Linked DNA regions of Homo sapiens: all the other regions are linked to region 1. Evidence: promoter capture Hi-C in 16 types of primary human blood cells and fetal thymus (Javierre and others, 2016). All regions are on one chromosome and are shown on one strand. Each heading gives the region's core, a stretch centred on a gene start or on the middle of the fragment in contact. The rest is flanking DNA. Distances are from core to core; before and after follow the strand shown. Region 1 holds the start of TSR1 (TSR1 ribosome maturation factor). Region 2 has its middle 83 kb from the start of RPA1. Region 3 overlaps RPA1 (replication protein A1). Region 4 overlaps PAFAH1B1 (platelet activating factor acetylhydrolase 1b regulatory subunit 1). Region 5 overlaps RPA1 (replication protein A1).

Region 1 (2,700 bases), core at 187-2,686:
ACTACCCTGAAGGAATTTCACAGTGAAATCAAACTTCATATCCTTGTTTCTCTGGGCAAAGGACAGCCAAAAACAAAAAGACACCCTGAGTGATAATCTGTAAACAATGGATCAAGTTTAATCCATATGTGTACATCCCACCACCAGCTGAATATGATCCATCAGTTGTATTCCTGTATCAAATACCAGGCATAGTGCCTGACAAATTAAAGGTGCACAATAAATGCTAACTCACTTACTATAGGTCGGAAGGCCCTGAGCAAAGAGGCAGGAAAGACAGTAATCACCGGTGCTGTCCCAGCCTTCTAGTGGATCAAGGAGGAACAGGATGGTATCAGCTACTTTAGCCATGTCTAACACAACGTGCAGATCCCCTGCAGATAGAAGACACAGTAAGAAGAGGTGGTTGGCACCAGCACATTATTCTAAAAAAAAAAAAAAAAAATACCACTACTCAAACATAATACAAAATATTGGTGTATACTCTAACCTGGCCTTGCTGAGGTGAAAAACCACCGATGTTTCAAGCGGGGGCACAGCAGCATAAAGTTCTGGGTGTTTCCCAATTCATTCAAGTGTACTGTTCCAGTGTCCCTATCTTGAAGCAGCTGCATGGCCTCTGGCAGGGAAATTCTGCTGTGCAGGGGCACCACCAGTACCTGATGAGGAGGGCCATCCTTGCCACCCAGCTGTCTCTTCTCTGCCAGAACCTGAAAATAGAAAGATATCCGAGAACATCTCAGTGTCTCAGTACTTCACTCCAGCATTGCATTTCCACTCCCACAGATGCTCCCCCTACCCAAAACCAGCATCTCTCTAGTAAAAGACCACAGGTATGCCAGCGGGGTGGCAGGAATTCTGACCAAAGCAAAGAATGCTAGACCTGCACGCTCGACACGTGCTCTAGGGCTATGCTCTGTCCCTGGACCCTCCTCCCGGTCTCATTTTCCACTTCGAGGCATTAGCCACCTAGAACACCAGAGAAGCCGCATTCTCCCAAATCCCGCTCCTCTCACCGCCTCCTTCTTCTGCTTTCGGAGCTGGCTGGCGCGATGCCTCTGGTCGACTCTGCTGAGTTCTTTTCTCACCTTCTTGCTTAGGGTTTTCAGTGCCAGACGGCCTGAATGGCAGATTAGAAGGGGCTGGTGTGATCGGCCCCACAAGGTCAAGAAAAGGGACTCCTCTCCGCCCACCTTAGAAAGGGCCTTTCGCGTGGAGCCCAGACGGGAGACAGAAGCTCAGTCTGGGCATGAGGAAAAAGAGTTAATAACGGCCAAATAGCCCTTATTCCTTCTACGTTATCTCCTTACCCTTGCCGTCCCGCTGTGCAGATCCCCGACCCCGATGCCGTCCGCCTTTATGAGCTTTATTCTGCTGCTTGAGCGGGCCGGGGCGGTGGGCCGCCATGCCGCAGCGCGCGTGTACGGAGTCAGCACTGCTTCCGGGCCAGGACAAGCGCTTCCGGTCCCCTCCAAGGGGGCGGGCCCTCCAGGGAGCGGGACTCCCTGCGCCCTCTCGCGAAGGTCTTTTCCAGCAGCTCGTGAGAGCGCCGTGTTAGCGGGTTCGCCAAGCCGCGCTGGGAACTTTTCCCACTTCGCAGTGTGTGGTTGGGGGCTTGAAGGCGCCGGATGTAGACTGTCGAGGCTCGGGCTGTTGGTCTAGCAGGGCTGTTTGTACCCCTTGCATTGTCATTTTTTTGCGCTATAAAGCTGCATCACGTAGAAGCATGTTGACTGGAAGGCTCCATTCGTGCCGAAAAGGCCTAAGCCCTTCCTGTCACCTAGATTCGGGCACGTTGCTCTTCCGTTTGCAACGGCATGTTCTTTATCACTCTGAGCAACCTTTCTTCTCCCTCGATTCCCTAGCGAGGCTTGGGAATCGCGTGGAAGACACTTCTCTCACCTTGCCCGGTTCCGTACCAGCTCAAGCCCGTCCCTGTTACTCCAACCTGCGCCCCGCCTCCCACGGAGCGGCCGGGAAGGACCTTGTGGGACGTGGCGACCCGGCAAGGGGGACTGGCCGCGACCCTCCGGCCGTCGGGCTCGGGCGGCTGCGCTCCCACTAATCTTCCCAGAAACTTGACAACTGCACGGCGACGGCCGGACGGGGATTCAGAGGGGTCACGGGGCCAGGCTGCACCGGCTTCGCCGTGGGCAGGCTCGGACCGCAGGGGACCCCATGCCCGAGCCCCGGCCCTTTCCGTCCCGTCGGGAGAGGGAGCAGGCAGAAGTCAGGGGAGCTTCAGCGGGACCGAGGCTCGCTCTCAGCCGCGGGGCCGCGGGCTCCAGGGCCAGCGCTCACAATGCGGCTTCGCGCCCTCCATGCGGGAGCGGGTGCGTTGCCATGACAGCGACCCCCGTGGCGCGCGCCCGGGTCTGCCGCCCCTAGGCGCGCACGGCCTCTCCCCGCCCCGATCCCCCGTCGCTGTGCGCAACCCCCCTCCGGCTGTGGGAAGGGGCCGGGCCTGCCGCCTGACGTCTGTGCGGGGCTCGGAAGATGGCTGCGGAGCCGAGCACCGGGCAGTGGCTGCGGCGGCGGCGGCGGCGGCGGGCCGGGAGCGCGGCGGGCGGGGGCTCCGCCTTGCGCGTGGGGCGCTGAGCCGAGAGGCGCGGAGGCGGCGAGGGCGCGGGGGCTCTGAGGACCGCTCGGCGCCGCCTCCTGCCACACCATGGGCAGCGCAGAGGACGCAGTCAAAGAGAA
Region 2 (2,700 bases), core at 183-2,682, 420 kb before region 1:
GATCTGGGTTCAAATCCCCCATCTTCCATTTACCTGACCTCAGAATTTATTCCCTCGTGTGTAAAGCAAGGATGATATTAACGCGTGCCTTCCAGGCCAGTTGTAAGAATTAGAAATATCATACATAAAACACCTAGCGTATCGTGGGCTAACCTTTTTTTTTTTCTTTTATGCAGCTAATTCTGGGAGACGTGGGCTATGTTTTTTAAAATGCAGTGATGGTTGCTATCCACGCTCAAGGAAAAATGGAAATTCCTTTGGTCAGTCTGGCCCAGCTGCTGGCGCCCTGGGACCTCTGGGGGGATGTTTTCATGCCTTCAGGTGATTAGCATGAGGCAGCGTCTGGAGTCTGGTGGTGACCGTCATTTCTTAGAGCTCCTGAAGGCAACTTTGGGACAGTGGGTGAACAGCATTGCAAGCAGGTTGGTTTTGACTCAACCAAAAAAAGTGCTTTCTAATGATCAGAAGCAACCTGCGACATAATAGGTTGCTTCAGAGGAGAATGAGCTGGTAAAAAAAGGCTGGTAAACGTCTGCAAAGCCCCCTGTAGGAGCAGAGCCCTGTGCTTGGCCCTGGCGACTGCGAGCTTCCGGTGAGGACACGTGAGGAGGAGCATCCCTGGTTCCCGTGCTTGGCTCAGACTTCCCTTTTGGCTCCGTTCCTCCCTGAGGGTGCCTTGTGGGCAAGATGCTCTGCTGTGGTCTCCCACTTTAGAAACCGCCTCAACGAGAAGGGACTCAGGGCTGAGTGACCCTCTGAGACAGGGACATGGTTTAGGCAGGTGTGGCCTGTCTTTGGGAAAGGTCCAATGCCCCTGTGGCTTTGTTATGGATCCAAAATTACAGTTACTCGGCTAGGCACAGTGGCTCACGCCTGTAATCGCAGCACGTTGGGAGGCTGAGGCGGGCGGATCACTTGAGGTCAGGAGTTCGAGACCAGCCTGGCCAGCATGGCGAAACCCCGTCTCTACTAAAAATACAAAAATTAGGTGGGCGTGGTGGTGGGCGCCTGTAATCCCAGCTACTCGGGAGGCTGACGCAGGAGAATTGCTTGAACCCGGGAGGCGGAGGTTACGGTGAGCCGAGATCACACCATTGCACTCCAGCCTGGGCAACAGAGCGAGACTCTGTCTCAAGAAAATAAAACAAACAAACAAAAAACCAAAATTATGGTAACCCAAGGGGTGGCCGGGAAGTTCCCATTCACAGCACAGGATCCAGTGGGGGCTGAGAGAGAAGGCTTTGTCCTGGGAGCAGTTCTCTGGGTCACTGTGGCTATCACAGTAGGTTGAACGGTGGCTACCCACAAGATACGTCCACCTGGAAACAGTGAATGAAACCTTGATGGGAAAAAGGGTCCTTGTCGATGTGTTTATGTTAAGGACTGCAGGACGAGGTCATCCTGGCTAGGGTGGGCCCTAAATCCAATGACAAGCATCCTTCTAGGACAACAGAAGAAGGAGACAGGACGCTCAGAGAAGGGGACGTGAAGACAGGCAGAGAGGCTGGAGGGGTATTCCTACAAACCCAGGAACAACAAAGACTGTGTGCAGCCACCAGAGGCCAAGAGAAAGGCACAGAACACAGCCTGGACAACACGGCGAGACCCCAGCTCTGAAAAAAAAAAAAAATGTAGCCGTGGTGTCACATGCCTGTAGTCCCAGCTACTCAGGAGGGAGGCTGGGGAGGGAGGATGGCTTGAGCCCCAGGAGGCAGAGCCTCCAGAGCCATGATTATGCCACGGCACACTAGCCTGGGTGACAGAGTGAGACCCTATCTCAAAAAAAAAAAAAGACAAGAAAAAAAGAAAGGCATGGAACAGATTCTCCCCGAGAGCCTCCAGAAGGAACGAACTGGCCAACACCTTGATTTGAGACTTCTGGCCTCCAGAGCTGGAGAGAATGAGTTTCTCTTGTTTCCAGCCACCCAGTTTGCGGTCGTCTGTTTCGGCAGCCCCGGGAACACAGGCAGCCTATTGTGTCTGTCATCTTGAATTACCCTGTGTCCTTTCGGCTGGGTCAGTGGAGAAGCCGTGGGTTCACTCAGGTTTCCATTGTATTCATTCGTAACTGGGATCCCTCACTCCGGGGCTGTCGGGTTCGAATCCTCACGGCCCAGCTCGCCTTCCTTCACCCCCCAGTGCCTTCTTCTGCGTCAGGTATGGCTGCACCCTTAGTGACTGGGGTTCTTATCACTTATCGGCATCTGATCCAGCTCCGAGGAGCACGGGGCCCTGGGCACAGGCTCCCATCACACACACACACACACACACACACACACACACACACACAGACACACACAAAAGGCACATCAGCAACTGGAAGAACAACCTTTTCAAAAATCACCTTTTGAAAATAGTGGCACCGGCTGGGCGCAGTGGCTCATGCCTGTAATCCCAGCACTTTGGGAGACCGAGGCGGGCGGATCACAAGGTCAGGAGATCGAGACCATCCTGGCTAAAACTGTGAAACCCCATCTCTACTAAAAATACAAAAAATTAGCCAGGCGTGGTGGTGGGCGCCTGTAGTCCCAGCTACTCGGGAGGCTGAGGCAGGAGAATGGCGTGAACCCGGGAGGCGGAGCTTGCAGTGAGCCGAGATCGCAGCACTGCACTGCAGCCTGGGGGACAGAGCGAGACTCCGTCTCAAAAAAAAAAAAAAAGAAAGAAAGAAAATAGTGGCACCAAGCATGCAGTAAATAG
Region 3 (2,700 bases), core at 191-2,690, 480 kb before region 1:
TTGTTCTGTCATTTACTGAGAGGGATATTGAAATCTCTAACTGTAATAATTGTAAGTTTCTCTGTCTCTCTGCAGTTCTATTAGTTTTTGCTTCATGTATTTCAAAGCTGTATTATTAAATATCTATATAATTTAGAATTCTTGTGTCCACTTGATGAGTTGACTCTTATTATTATGAAATGATTTTATCCCTGGGAAATTCTGTGCTTTGAAGTCTGCTTTGATATTAGCATAGCCACTTTGGCGTTTTTTTTGTTTTGTTTTGTTTTTTCTCTCCTAGAGACAACATCTTGCTCTGTTGCCCAGGCTGGAGTACAGTGGTACATTCACGGCTCAGTGCAGCCTCAACACCTTGGGCTCAAGCAATCCTCCCACCTCCGCCTCCTGAGTAGCTGGGACTACAGGCATGTGCCACCACGCCCAGCTAATTTTATTTTGTTTTTTATTTATTTATTTATTTTTGAGACGAAGTCTCACTCTGTTGCCAGGCTGGAGTGCAGTGGCGTGATCTCGGCTCACTGCAACCTCCGCCTCCCAGGTTCAAGCGATTCTCCTGCCTCAGCCTCCTGAGTAGCTAGGGCTACAGGCACGCATCACCATGCTCAGCTGATTTTTGTATTTTTAGTAGAGATAGGGTTTCACCATGTTGGCCAGGATGGTCTCCATCTCTTGACGTCATGATCTGCCCGCCTCAGCCTCCCAAAGTGCTGGGGTTAAAGGCGTGAGCCACCATAATTGGCCTAATTTTATTTTTTGTGGACATGGAGTCCTGCCATGTTGCCCACACTGGTCTTGAATTCCTGGCCTCCAGCAATCCTCCTGCCTCAGCCTCCCAAGTAGTTGGGACTGCAGGCTGCACCTGTAGTCTGGGAGGTGGAGTGCCGGGCCTGCCTGTGGACTGCCTGGACTGGGGCTGGGACGGCAGTGCCACCACGCCCGGCTCATTTCTTTTCTTTTTATTTGTAGGGGCGGGGTCTCACTTTGTTGCCCAGGCTGGTCTCAAACTCCTGGCCTCAATCCTCCTGCCTTAGCCTCTCAAAAGGCTGAATTACAGGCATAAGCTACTGTGCCTGGCCATTGTGTATACTTTCTATTGCTAGCCGTTCAAGTTCACTAATGGTTTCTCAGGCAGTGCCTAATCTGCTGTTAATCCCATTGAGTGTATTTTTCTTCTCAGATAGTATAGTTTTTATCCCTAGAAGCTTGATTTTGGGTCTTTAAAAACTCATCTACATCTCTGCTTAATTTTTGGGACATACAGAGCACAATGACAGTATTTGTTGTAAGGTCCTTGTCTGTGGATTCTGGTGTCTGTGTTAGGTCCGGATTTGTTTCCGTCAGTTGATCCCGGCCTCTCCGATCATGGATCATATTTTCCTGCTGCTTTTCATGCCTGGCCCTCGGACCGAATGCCAGACATTGGGATTCGTACCTCGTTGGGTGCTAGAAACTTTTGTAATCCTGTAATTATTCTTGAGCTTTTTTCAGGGATACAGTTAACTTGGAGACAGTTTGATCTTTTGGTGTGTTGCTTTTAAGATTTATTAGAGAATCAGAGAGCTGCATTTAGTCTAGGTGTAGTTATTCCCAATACTGAATCGAGACCTGACAGACTGTTCTACCTCGTGCCCCATGAATATGAATTTTTCCCATCTGACTGGTAGAAACAGGTACTATTTCAAGCTTGCTGTAAACACAGGCATGGTTCCCTCTGGCCTTCTCAGATGATTCTCACCCTGGCCTCAGATCGTGTCCACACACACACACGGGCCAACCAGGACTCTGCTGACTACCCAGGAAACCTGCCACCCATTTCTGGAGTTCTCTGTGTACAGCCCTCTCTTCTCTGCTACTCTGTCCGGCCAGCTAGACGGCGATCTCCCCAGACTCTCGGCCCCCATTTCTGCACCTCGGGTTCTGGCAGGCCCCCTAAGCCCTTGAGGCACTGAGCTGGTGCAGACCCACTCGCTCGCTTTCCTGTGCACAGCAGGCGCTACCCCTCATTGAAAACCATGCGTCTCACGTATTTTCTCCCTTTCTGGTGGGGGGAGGGGGTTATGTTAGGTGTTAGGGTGAACCTGGTCTCTGTTGCTCCATTTGTCCGGTACGTAGTTTTAAAAGTTGAATATTTTTGCGAGGTGTGTCCTTAAAAACAAAACAGCATTCTCCTGCCTCACTTTTCTTTGGCCTCTGACTCCTGTCTAGAGACAGTCTGTTTCAAATCTCACAGCTGTTTCTTCTCTGTTTGTCTCCATATTTCTAAATAACACATTTGTGCTGCTCTTCGTTAATTTTTTCAGTTGAAACATTTGTTTATTAACTTCACGCTATGGGAGATTAGAATGTGGTGCTCTCTCTTTTTTTTTTTTCTTTTTTAAGAGTCTCACACTGTCACCCAGGCTGGAGTCCAGTGGCGTGATCTTGGCTCACTGCAACCTCCGCCTCCTGGACTCAAGCAATCCTCCTTGCCTCAGCCTCCTCAGTAGCTGGGATTACAGGCGTGCACCACTGCACCCTGCTAATTTTTGTTTTTATTTTTTTATTTTTTGAGACGGAGTCTCACTGTGTCGCCCAGGCTGGAGTGCAGTGGCGCGGTCTCGGTTGACTGCAAGCTCCACCTCCCGGATTCACGCCATTCTCCTGCTTGAGTAGCTGGGACTACAGGCACCCACCACCATGCCCGGGTGATTTTTTTTGTAT
Region 4 (2,700 bases), core at 201-2,700, 330 kb after region 1:
ATCACCTTGTGCTTGAACAATTTTTGTTCTTGGAGAATGAAAAGTGTGTGTCTTACCTTTAAACGGAGGTTATGTGTGAAATACTGATTGACAAAACTAGTAATTGATAGGGTGAATCTATACTGCAAAAGAATTCAGTAGAGGATTCATTTAAATTGGGCTTTCCTTGATGTATTTAAAATTGGCTTTCCAGGAGTGTGGGAATATACAAGCTTTTCATTTTATAAATTACGTATTTCATTAAAAAATTTTTTTCACAGTAAAAATATTATTACCTTTTAATGTTGTGCTTTTTTAATTAGGAAAAGAGTTGTTTTTAAGTTGCCTTTGTTCCGGACACAATAAAATGACCGTTGTATAAACCACCTACAGAAAGATAAGATAGTTGCAATATAGGTAGATTTAGGTAGATGCCTCTATCCTAAGGGTTATTTCAAAGTAAGTTACAGATATTAAGTTTCATTTACAAAAGTATAACCAATCGGCCGGGCACGGTGGCTCACGCCTGTAATCCCAGCACTTTGGGAGGCCGAGGCGGGTGGATTGCCTGAGCTCAGGAGTTCAAGACCAGCCTGAGCAACACGGAGAAACCCCATCTCTACTAAAATACAAAAAAATTAGCTGGGCATGGCAGCGTGCGCCTGTAGTCCCAGCTACTTGGAAGGCTGAGGCAGGAAATTCGCTTGAACCCAGGAGACAGGTTGCAGTTAGCCAAGATCGCTCCACTGCACTCCAGCCTGGGCGACAGAGCGAGACTGTCTCAAAAAGGTAGTTACAACTAACCAAATAGTAACGACGGTTTGGCCTTACTACTAACAGCAGAAGAAATAAACACTGAAATTATGGGCCGGGTGTGGTAGCTCATGCCTATAGTCCTAGGACTTTGGGAGGCCAAGGTGGGAGGACTGCTTGAGCTCAGGAGTTAGAGAGCAGCCTGGGCAACATAGCAAGACCTCGTCTCTACTTAAAATTAGCCAGGTATGGTGGTGCATGCCTGTAGTCCTAGCTACTCAGGAGGCTGAGATGGGAGGATCACATGAGCCTGGGAGTTGGAGGCTGCAGTGAGCTATGATTGAGCCAGTGTACTCCAGCCTGGGCGAAGAGTGAGACCCTGTCTTAAAAACAAAAAAATTGGACTGGGCACGGTAGCTCATGCCTGTAATCCCAGCACTTTGGGAGGCCAAGGTGGGTGGATCATGAGGTCAGGAGATCGAGACCATCCTGGCTAACATGGTGAAACCCCGTCTCTACTAAAAAATACAAAAAATTAGCCGGGAGTGATGGCGGGCTCCTGTAGTCCCAGCTACTCGGGAGGCTGAGTCAGGAGAATGGCGTGAACCCGGGAGGCGGAGCTTGCAGTGAGCCAAGATCGCGCCACTGCACTCCAGCCTGGGCGACAAGAGTGAGACACACATACATATATATGTGTGTCAAATTGTCAAGGTATTTTACCTATTAAATAAGAATTCCCAGTGATGATAAGATTTTGATAAAGTAGTCATTCTCATTACATATGATACAGTCTTACGGGATATCAATTTAATAGAGTATATGAAGGCTTTAAAAGTTTATACTTTTTGACCCACTAATTGTTTCTCCCCATTACTGTCTGACCTAGGTATTATAAAATGAGGACAGAATTTTTTTATATTAAAAAATGTTCACTATAATGTTTTCTATAATAGTGATTTAGCCAGCAATTAGAATTTTTTTTTTTTTTTTGAGATGGAGTTTCACTCTTGTTACCCAGGCTGGAGTGCAGTGGTATGATCTTGGCTCACTGCAGCCTCCGCCTCCCAGGTTCAAGCAATTCTGCCTCAGCCTCCCGAGTAGCCGGGAGTACAGGCGCCCACCACTGTGCCTGGCTAATTTTTTGTGTTTTTTAGTAGAGACGGGGTTTCACCATATTAGCCAGGATAGTCTCGAACTGACCTCGTGGTCCGCCCGCCTTGGCCTTCCTAAGTGCTGGGATTACAGGCGTGAGCCACTGCGCCCGGCCATATTTCATTTTTTAACTCAAAATGACATATGCTCTTGTTCATTTGCTATTCGTGAACAGTTAACATCTTCTGAAATCTTTCCTTGGCCCTTTAGATGTCTGAGTTCTGATGGTCTAGTAGGATCGAGTATTCATCCATTGTTCCTCAAATATTCTACATACAAATGCCTGCTATAGCCCTCTGAAGCTCCTTCCCTTCCCCTTCCCTTTCCCCTTTCTTTCCCTTTCCTTTCCATCTCTTTCTCTTTCTTTCCTCTTATTTCTTCCCCTTAAGTTTCCTTATTTACATGTCATTCCTGCTCTGAGACAGGGAGCGGACTATGTCTTGTGACTTTATATACCTTATCACTATTACAGTTGGTTATGTGATAGAAACCTTATAAATGTGGTTCTAGAGATAGATTTTAATAATTGCAACATTAGTTTTCCCTGTAGAAAAAAAGACCAATTTATACATGAGATACAATATTTCTAAAATAGTTATCCTTTGTTACTTGTTCGGTTAGTTACTCAGTAAGGTGCCAGACTGGCCTGCTGAGTGCAAATGTGAAACAAGAAAGGAGTGATGGAGTTGGTGTTAACCAATTTTCTGTTCACTTGACAGGTGTGGGATTATGAGACTGGAGATTTTGAACGAACTCTTAAAGGACATACAGACTCTGTACAGGACATTTCATTCGACCACAGCGGCAAGCTTCTGG
Region 5 (2,700 bases), core at 132-2,631, 450 kb before region 1:
AAGCAGCTAAAGAATGAGCTCATTTTACATACTCCTCCTTTGTTTTGAGTCATTTAAACCAATGGCACTGGTGTTTGACCAGTTTCATGAAGCATCTTCTGGAATGTTCATGTCACTGAGCCATCCTCATGAGTAGTACGGTCCACACGTATCTGCCGAACTGCAGGGCCCGTTCATAGTCTGACCAGAACTAGCCACAGATTTGCTTTTTTCTTATTGCTTGATTTTCTTTTAGGCTCTGGAGTTCGACTCCAGGTTAATTGCATTCCCACATTAAAATCGCATTCCCACATTAAAATTGCATTCCCACATTAATGTCTTCATCTTTTACTTGTCAATAATCATGATCCCAGTCAACATAAAAAGCACGGCTGTCCCCAGAATAAAATAACTTGGCATTGATCAAAGACAAGCTCAGTGCATACATGATACCTGGACAAGGATTAGAGATGTTTAGATCTTGGCTATAACAATGCAGAGTTTTTATTGTAAGAAGGGCCGCCTTGACTCCTGACGAGTGATCTTTGGTGGCAAATGTCTCCTTGGAGCTTTTGAAACCGTGAACTTGTGTAGCTAGTAGTGGTGAAACAGATGGATGGGCCTTGCTGTGCCCCTGTGAGGGATTTAGCCGCTTACCTGACAGGAGAAGGCAGCTGTCTGCAGCTCAGGGTAACATCCATTCTGTTAGATGGTCTCTGTTTAAGGAACCTGTTCTTTGTGTGGTTACCCACCTTGGGATGGTATTTGGCCTTTCATCTCCGGCCAGCTCCTCTCCGCCACCACTGTGTTCCCGAGCCACTTTCTCCTTGGCCCCTTTTCCTTCATATCAATTGATGTGTGATCAAGAAGTACAATCAGTTTTCATAATAATTTAATACAAATTAATTTAGCTTCGATATTAGCAAAAGTAAAATTTCACTAAGAAGGTAAATCTACAAGAAAAAAGATAATGCCTTCTGATAAGTTGCTCTGGTTTATAAAATCTTTTGGGCCAGGCACGGTGGCTCATACCTTAATTCCAGCACTTTGGGAGGCCGAGGTGGACAATTGCTTGAGGCCAGGAGTTCAAGACCAGCCTGGCCAACATGGTGAAACCTCGTCTCTACAAAAAATACAAAAATCAGCCGGGCCTGTAGTCCCAGCTACTCGGTGCGTGCCTGTAGTCCCAGCTACTCGGGAGGCTGAGGCACGAGAATCACTTGCCAGGAGGTGGAGGTTGCAGCGAGCCAAGTTGGTACCACCACACTCCATCCTGGGTGACAAAGCAAGACTCTGTCTCAAAACAAAAAAACCACTTTTGGCTTCTGTATCAGGCATAGGAGGCCTTTTATGGAAACACTTTTGCTACCACGGTATATTGGCTGTCCGTTTCCACACTGGTACATTTCGGTGATGATCACCACGCAGCTGCTGCCTGAGAATGAGCATTAGCAGATTAAAGGACTACCCCAGACGGCCACTTTATAGCTTACGGGTTGTTGACTTTCCCAGTTTCTGATTTTAGGCCTGGGGTGGTCTGGCCACTGCCAATATGCAAGGCTAGTTTAAGAAAAGATTCTTTGGTACTTTGGCACTGATTCTCTTCACCACTGGGGGGCATCAAAGCAACTGAGATTCAAAGAAAGGTCATTCCGTTTCTTCAGTAGACTTTGGGCCAGGAGCAGTGCCTCACGCCCTGTAATCCCAGCACTTTGGGAGGCCGAGGGAGGAGGATTGTCTGAGTCCAGGAGTTTGAGATCAGCCTGGCCAACAGAGCAAGACCCCATCTCTTAAAAAAATTTTTTTTTCGAGACGGAGTTTCGGTCTTGTTGCCCAGGCTGGAGTGCAATGGCGCCATCTCGGCTCACTGCAACCTCCGCCTCCTGAGAATTGCCTACAAGTGATTCTCCTGCCTCAGCCTCCCGAGTAGCTGGGATTACAGGCACCCACCACCACGCCCGGCTAATTTTGTATTTTTAGTAGAGACGGGGTTTCACCATGTTGGCCAGGATAGTCTTGATCTCTTGACCTCGTGATCCGCCCGCCTCATCCTCCCAAAATGCTGGGGTTACAGGCATGAGCCACTGCGCCCAGCCTAAAAAAAATTTTTTTAATGGGCCTGGGCATGGAAGTCCCAGTTACTTAGCAGGGCAAAGGTGGGAGGATCACTGAGCTCAGGGGGTCAAAGCTGCCTTGAGCCATGATTGCATCATTGCACTCCAGCCTGGGTGACAGAGTGAAACTCTGACACAATTTTTTTTAATTTAAATATTATAAAAAATATATAATTACGAAGATACCAGCTTCAGCCGACATGACCGTGACCTGTGTGAAAGCTGGGCGGGTGGTGGGAAACCTGTGTCTGTCGCGTAGCAGCAAGTTGCATGTGGAGAAGCAGAAGCATGTCACATCAAGCGCTCGTCATCGTTATTCGTTCACGTTTTCAGGTTTGACGCAGAAGGACAAGCCTTAGATGGTGTTTCCATCTCTGATCTAAAGAGCGGCGGAGTCGGAGGGAGTAACACCAACTGGAAAACCTTGTATGAGGTCAAATCCGAGAACCTGGGCCAAGGCGACAAGGTACCCAGCATTCCTAACCACCTTCACAAAGGGCTGTAAAGTGTGCAGAAGGATGGATTTAGAAACTTGGTTTCCAGCACCAGCTGTCAGAGCCGTAATTCTTACCCGGGGCTGTGACCTGAGCGTGGCATGGGGGTTGAG

What was found. The method cuts DNA at HindIII sites, captures the fragments that hold promoters and counts their contacts. A CHiCAGO score of 5 or more calls a contact.
Region 2: a fragment that was not itself captured here is called in contact with the fragment with the promoter of TSR1 in region 1 in 1 of 17 cell types (endothelial precursors); the score reaches 6.9 in endothelial precursors.
Region 3: a contact is called between a fragment that was not itself captured here and the fragment with the promoter of TSR1 in region 1, in 1 of 17 cell types (M2 macrophages). The highest score is 5.6, in M2 macrophages.
Region 4: a contact is called between a fragment that was not itself captured here and the fragment with the promoter of TSR1 in region 1, in 1 of 17 cell types (erythroblasts). The highest score is 5.1, in erythroblasts.
Region 5: a fragment that was not itself captured here is called in contact with the fragment with the promoter of TSR1 in region 1 in 3 of 17 cell types (endothelial precursors, activated CD4 T cells and M2 macrophages); the score reaches 8.3 in endothelial precursors.

The regions. Positions count from the first base shown.
Region 1 is chr17:2,335,021-2,337,720 of GRCh38, forward strand. TSR1 (TSR1 ribosome maturation factor) reads right to left here and starts at 1,437. Exons shown (of 15, transcript NM_018128.5): 1 at 1,311-1,437; 2 at 1,017-1,120; 3 at 491-710; 4 at 240-374. The coding sequence starts at 1,407. It overlaps SGSM2 (small G protein signaling modulator 2), which reads left to right and starts at 2,481. Exons shown (of 24, transcript NM_014853.3): 1 at 2,481-2,700. The coding sequence starts at 2,669. RefSeq lists an enhancer at 1,605-1,714 and silencers at 1,945-2,074, 2,105-2,414, 2,515-2,624. The HindIII fragment of the contact is 5,731 bases long and covers 1-2,700 here.
Region 2 is chr17:1,911,983-1,914,682 of GRCh38, forward strand. No RefSeq gene overlaps it. Among named protein-coding and RNA genes, the nearest start is that of RPA1, 83 kb to the left of the region's middle. The HindIII fragment of the contact is 6,793 bases long and covers 1-2,700 here.
Region 3 is chr17:1,859,370-1,862,069 of GRCh38, forward strand. The region is part of intron 5 of RPA1 (replication protein A1); the gene reads left to right. Among named protein-coding and RNA genes, the nearest start is that of RPA1, 31 kb to the left of the region's middle. The HindIII fragment of the contact is 481 bases long and covers 1,201-1,681 here.
Region 4 is chr17:2,667,560-2,670,259 of GRCh38, forward strand. It overlaps PAFAH1B1 (platelet activating factor acetylhydrolase 1b regulatory subunit 1), which reads left to right. Exons shown (of 11, transcript NM_000430.4): 6 at 2,604-2,700. Among named protein-coding and RNA genes, the nearest start is that of MIR6776, 24 kb to the right of the region's middle. The HindIII fragment of the contact is 2,481 bases long and covers 211-2,691 here.
Region 5 is chr17:1,881,386-1,884,085 of GRCh38, forward strand. RPA1 (replication protein A1) reads left to right here. Exons shown (of 17, transcript NM_002945.5): 13 at 2,427-2,559. Among named protein-coding and RNA genes, the nearest start is that of RPA1, 53 kb to the left of the region's middle. RefSeq lists a silencer at 1,637-1,686. The HindIII fragment of the contact is 2,906 bases long and covers 1-2,700 here.